2 separate regions of the Homo sapiens genome follow, and region 2 is linked to region 1. The links are contacts of gene promoters, found by promoter capture Hi-C in human tissues and cell types (Jung and others, 2019). All regions are on one chromosome and are shown on one strand. The core of a region is centred on a gene start or on the middle of the fragment in contact, and the rest is flanking DNA. Distances in the headings are between cores, read along the strand shown.

The links. Contacts are between HindIII fragments. The study calls those that stand out against the background at their distance.
Region 2: a fragment that was not itself captured here is called in contact with the fragment with the promoter of ARHGEF10 in region 1 in 2 of the 25 tissues and cell types used here (IMR-90 fibroblasts and neural progenitor cells).

Annotation. Positions count from the first base shown.
Region 1 is chr8:1,822,572-1,825,271 of GRCh38, reverse strand. ARHGEF10 (Rho guanine nucleotide exchange factor 10) reads right to left here and starts at 1,346. Exons shown (of 29, transcript NM_014629.4): 1 at 1,159-1,346. The HindIII fragment of the contact is 19,596 bases long and covers 1-2,700 here.
Region 2 is chr8:1,975,280-1,977,979 of GRCh38, reverse strand. All of the region lies in intron 1 of KBTBD11 (kelch repeat and BTB domain containing 11), which reads right to left. KBTBD11-OT1 (KBTBD11 overlapping transcript 1) reads right to left here. Exons shown (of 3, transcript NR_126346.1): 3 at 1,536-2,081. Among named protein-coding and RNA genes, the nearest start is that of KBTBD11, 3.0 kb to the right of the region's middle. The HindIII fragment of the contact is 5,247 bases long and covers 1-2,700 here.

The DNA.
Region 1 (2,700 bases), core at 97-2,596:
GTGGGGTGCAGGTGAACAGGTGGGGTGCGGGGGACAGGTGGGGTGCGGGGGGACAGGTGGGGTGCGGGGGGACAGGTGGGGTGCGGGGGGACAGGTGGAGTGCGGGGGGACAGGTGGGGTGCGGGGGGACAGGTGGGGTGCGGGGGGACAGGTGAGGTGCAGGGGGGACAGGTGGGGTGCGGGGGGACAGGTGGAGTGCGGGGGGACAGGTGGAGTGCGGGTGAACAGGTGGGGTGTGGGGGGACAGCTGGGGTGCAGAGTAAACAGGTGGGGTGTGGGGAGGACAGGTGGGGTGCGAGGGGACAGGTGGGGTGCGGGGAACTGGTGGAGTGCAGAGTTAACATGGGGTGCTGAGGGACAGGCGGGGTACACGGGGTGCGGGGAACTGGTGGGGTGTGGGGGGACAGCTGGGGTGCAGAGTAAACAGGTGGGGTGTGGGGAAGACAGGTGGGGTGCAGGGGGAACAGGTGGGGTGCGAGGGGACAGGTGGGGTGCAGAATAAACAGGTAGGGTGCGGGGGGACAGGCGGGGTGCGGGGGAATAGGTGGGGTGTGGGGGGGACAGCTGCGGCGCGGGGGACAGCTGGGGTGCAGGGTAAACAGGTGGGGTGCGGGGGGACAGCTGGGGTGCGGGGAACTGGTGGAGTGCAGAGTGAACAGGGGGTGCTGAGGGACAGGCGGGGTACACGGGGTGCGGGGAACTGGTGGGGTAGGGGGACAGGTAGGGTGCGGGGGAAAGACGCCGGCTTTCCTTACACCGGTCCTTCTCTGCATCCTGAGGCGGACCGCATTCTTCTCCTTTACCGGAAAATCTAAGTTACTGCACGACCCCCCAGGCGAAGCCAGCTCGCCCCTCGGGCTCCTTCCGCCGATCGGAGTTCGCTCCTGCCCCTGGGGCCAGGGGTCCCTGCTGCCAGTCCCTGCTCCCCCCGCCCAGGCCCGCGCCGTTATCCTGAGGGGCCGGGGGCGCCGCGGAAGGGGGAGCTGCTCGGGGGGAGGGGGTCTCAGCCCCTTCCCTGAAACATCTGCGCAGGGGGTCGGGGGCGCAGCCACCTCCGGGTGGGACCCAGCGATTTCGGGGGAGCCGGGCAGAAGTGCAACTCTCAAAGGAAACCAGAAGCCCGCGAGGGGACCCACGGTCCGCGGGGCCCGCACTCACCTCGGCGGCCAGGACGCGACCCGCAGTCCCCTGCTGTTCCCCGCCGTCCCCCGCTGTTCCCCGCCGTCCCCCGCTGTTCCCCGCCGTCCCCCGCCGTTCCCCGCCGTCCCCCGCGTCCCCCGCGTCCCCCGCGACCCCGTCCGTCCCGGATCGCGCGCCCGCCGGCTACAGGGATGCGCCCAGCCCCTCCCGCCCGGACGGCCTGCTCCACCCACCATGCTGTCATTGGCGGGCCCAGACCGTTCCGGGCGCCCATTGGCCGCAGAGCCTGCCGGTTTCTCGGCAGCGCCCTGCCCTCGCGCCCGCGCATTCCTTCGAGGCCACGTGGCCGCCCGCGCCCCCTCCCGCTGCCCAACGCCCGGCCCAGGCTGCGCACGCGTGGGAGGGGGCGCGCGGCAGAGGCTCCCGCCCCCGGATCATCTCCTGCCCCGCGGACCCCGGGCCGCGCTCACTTCGGGAGGGGTCGCTGGGCAGACCGAGTGCCCTCCCCGCCCCCAACATCTGGATCCTCCCCGCAGAGCCTGCTCCCGGCTCAGAGCTGCGCCCCTTGGGGAGGGTGCGCCGGGCAGACCCTAACCCTCTCCCAGAGCACCGCCCTTTCTGCGGACCCCCACGGGCTGAGCTCACCTGAGGGAGGGGGCGTCGGGCAGACGCTCCCCCCCCCAGAACATCGCCCCTCCCTGCGGACACCCGGGGTGCGCCCAGCCGAGGAGGGGGCGTCGGGACCCCACCCGACCCGCCCTTGAGCCCCCGTCCCTCCGTCCGCAGCTGGCCCTGCCCACAGGGCGTTCCGGGTCTTCCGCGCCAGCTGCCCTGGACCAGCCAAGGCTTGGGCGTTTGGAAATGCGATGACTTCAGCCACGTTTCCGAGGCAGTTTTTGAAGCTTGCTTCTTGCCAGGAAGCGCTCGTTTTTCCCGGGACCTTTCCAGGGAATGGCCCCTTCTGAGTTATTGGAATTGTTTACTTTGAGCATTTATTTGTCTTATACTTTTAAAAAGGAAACAGATTATCGTTATAATTACTATTAAAGAAAAAAAAAAACGAGAAACAAAGACATTTTTAACCAAAATAACTAAAGGATGTTATCTTTTACCTGGTCAGCACATTTAACAAGTGTGTTCGCAGATGCTAGATTTATTTCTATGCCTTCTCCTACCCAAATCTCCGAATCATAGAAGTAATTTTAAGTCAGTGTTTTAGAACTGTCAGACTTCTTAGAGATTTCTAGCCCCTTTCACTTGTTTTATAGAAGAAATACAAACAGCTATTTGGGATGCTAAGTATCACGAAATTAATCTAAACATTAACTGCCCTTAAGGCTTGTGTGCTCTGGAATAAGTTATTTCCCTGAAAATTTTGGACTATGTAAAAATCATAGCCAACATAGAAAGACTACAATGGCTGGAAAAAATAATCGTAGGTAAGGTGATATTTTTTCAATGTTTATTATTCACACTTGCTAATTTTATGAAATCAGACTGAGTTGTTTTTATGAATCAATTGAAAAAGGTATTTGCTCTCAGCGACCTTAAGATTAGAAA
Region 2 (2,700 bases), core at 176-2,675, 150 kb before region 1:
TAAGCTGTGCATGGCTTATTGAACCACCATGATATTGGAACAAGGGTCGTGATACGAATATTCAGAACTGTGAACTGCATCTTGCAGGAATGGGAAGCTATGAAAGGCCCACTATTGTAAGAATTTTAAAAAATAATTGCTCTGAGCTGGGAGTGGTGGTTCATGCCTGTAATCCCAGCACTTTGGGAGGCCAAGGCAGGAAGATCACTTGAGGCCAGGAGTTCGAGACCAGCCTGGCTAACATGCTGAGACCCCATCTCTACTAAAACTACAAAAAAAAATAAATAAATAAGTTGGGTGTGCTGGAGGGCGCCTGTAATCCCAGCTACTCGAGAGACTGAGACATGAGAATTGCTTGAACCCTGGAGGCGGAGGTTGCCGTGAGCTGACATGGTGCCACTGGATTCCAGCCTGGATGACAGAGCCAGACTCCATCTCAAAATATAATAATAATAATAAAAATCATTGTTCTGACTACTGCAGGAGGACCTGTTCAAAGAGAGGATGTGCAGAGCCTCTCCAGAGACTACTGCAGGAGTCCAAGCATGAGATGGAGGTGGCCAGGACAAAGATGGTACACTTCATAGAACCACACCCATATGTATGTCCCCACGACTCTACACCTTTCTAATAAAACAGTAACAATACCAGCTAACATCGGCACCGTGGTTTTTCATTTACAAAACATTCTATGTGCATCTTCCTATTTAATGATTTCACTTTAGGACTCGGGAAGTCTCCATGCTACAAAATTAATCCATATGAAACTCAGTCAAGCTCTAAAGCAGGGGTCTCCAATCTTTTGGCTTCCGTGGGCCACACTGGAAGAATTGTCTTGGGTCACACATAAAATAGACTAACACTAATGATAGATGATGAGCTTAAAAAAAAAAAAAACTCATAATGTTTTAAGAAAGTTTACAAATCTGTGTTGGGCCTCATTCAAAGCTGTCCTGGGCCACATGTGGCTCGTGGCCCATGGGTTGGAGGACCTTGCTCTAAAGTGTGAAGCTCCATCAATTTAACTCAGCCATAAAATCGGCTGACATTACACTTTTACTACACCCTGCTCCAGCGCCCCTCACTGACCTCTCCGTGCTCTAGTCCTCACCACAGGGCCTTTGCACACAATGTTCCCGCAAACTGTCCCCTCCTGGGCTCCTGAGCCACCCCTCTCATCCCTTAGTTCTCGGCCTAACATTCCTCTGTTACGTGCATTCAAGGGAATGTATTCCTCTCCTTCAACGCACTCATCTCCGTGTGTTATTACCTAAGAATTAACGTAATTATATGCTGAATGCCTTTCACTGTATTAACGTCTCAGCTGCAGATAGCAGAGAACTAGGCTGACTTTACTTACAACTGTATTCCCAGCACCTAGGACTGAGCCTGACCCACAGCAGGGTGGGGGGTGGGGGAGCAGGGGAACTCCACAAATATTCAGAAGAGAAGGAAATTCATGCTAATCCTTCAAACAAAATGCACATAAGACATGCAACGGTTTCTATTTCCAAGACAACATTTATTTCAAAATCATTTCTAGCAGGAACCTGGCTGTTGGCAAAAAGTAAACTAGATGCTTTAATTTATTCTTAAAGTTTTTGCTCATTGTTAAATACTTTGCAAACATGTGCTGGATACCAACACTATACTTTTAGCTTAATTACAATGATTTCAAGAGGAAAAAAAAAACAAACTCAAGACCACAATTGACACGATGAGCCCTTGACCTCCGGAGAAGGGCAGATATCGCCCTGAGTCACCAAGGGAACACATGCTGAATGACAGGCTGATTTGTGATCAGGAAACCCGCTGTTCTCCGGGCCCTTCTCAAGCCCACTCAGACACCAGTCCTCCTTGATCACAGCCTTGGATGCAAGGAGGCTTAGAGGCACTGCAGCTGCCTAAGTGATTCCAGATTTGCAGGAGAGCTATTATTACTGAGCAATCTGTGCTCTTGGTATTTAGAAAACAACTGAAACATGTGCCCAGATGGAGGCGTCCACAGCACGGAGAGTCTCTCTGTATCAGCACAGGGACAAAGACGGGACCTGCTGGGCTCCCACTGCCAAGGTTGCTACCTGTACCGGAACATATGGAAACCCCATTGAAGCGGGTTTGTATTGGAGTTTACAAATGATGCGATAAGCTCCAAACCACCTTTCCGGATTCTTCCATCCACCCAGAGCAAGGTGCTCTGAGGTTCAAGTTAGGCCCAGACATCAGTCAACACAGAGTCCTGCTCCCTGGGAATTTCTTTAGTCTCAGAGCCACAACATTTAAGCTTTCTCCCCTCCTCCCAAGCCCAATGCTGGCTTAAATACAGTCACGAATGGTTCAGATGCAGACAGGTTCTGAGAAATGATAGTTAGATAACTTCATCACTGTGCAAACATCACACAGGGCACCTACACACCTAGGCGGTGCAGCCTGCTACACACCTGTGCTCCACTGCACAGACTCCTGCTCCAGACTGCACACCTGTGCAGCGTGCACAATACCGCAGGCAATTGTAACACAATGGTGTTTGTGTATCTACACATTTCTAAGCATGAAAAAGACACAGGGAAAACAGTTTTATAATCTTACAGGACCACCGTCAACTTGGCGGTCTGTAATTGATCCGAACGTGGCTGTGCTACACATCACTATAATGTAAGCAACATCTTTTAACTGATTTTATTATGTGCTGTCCAATGC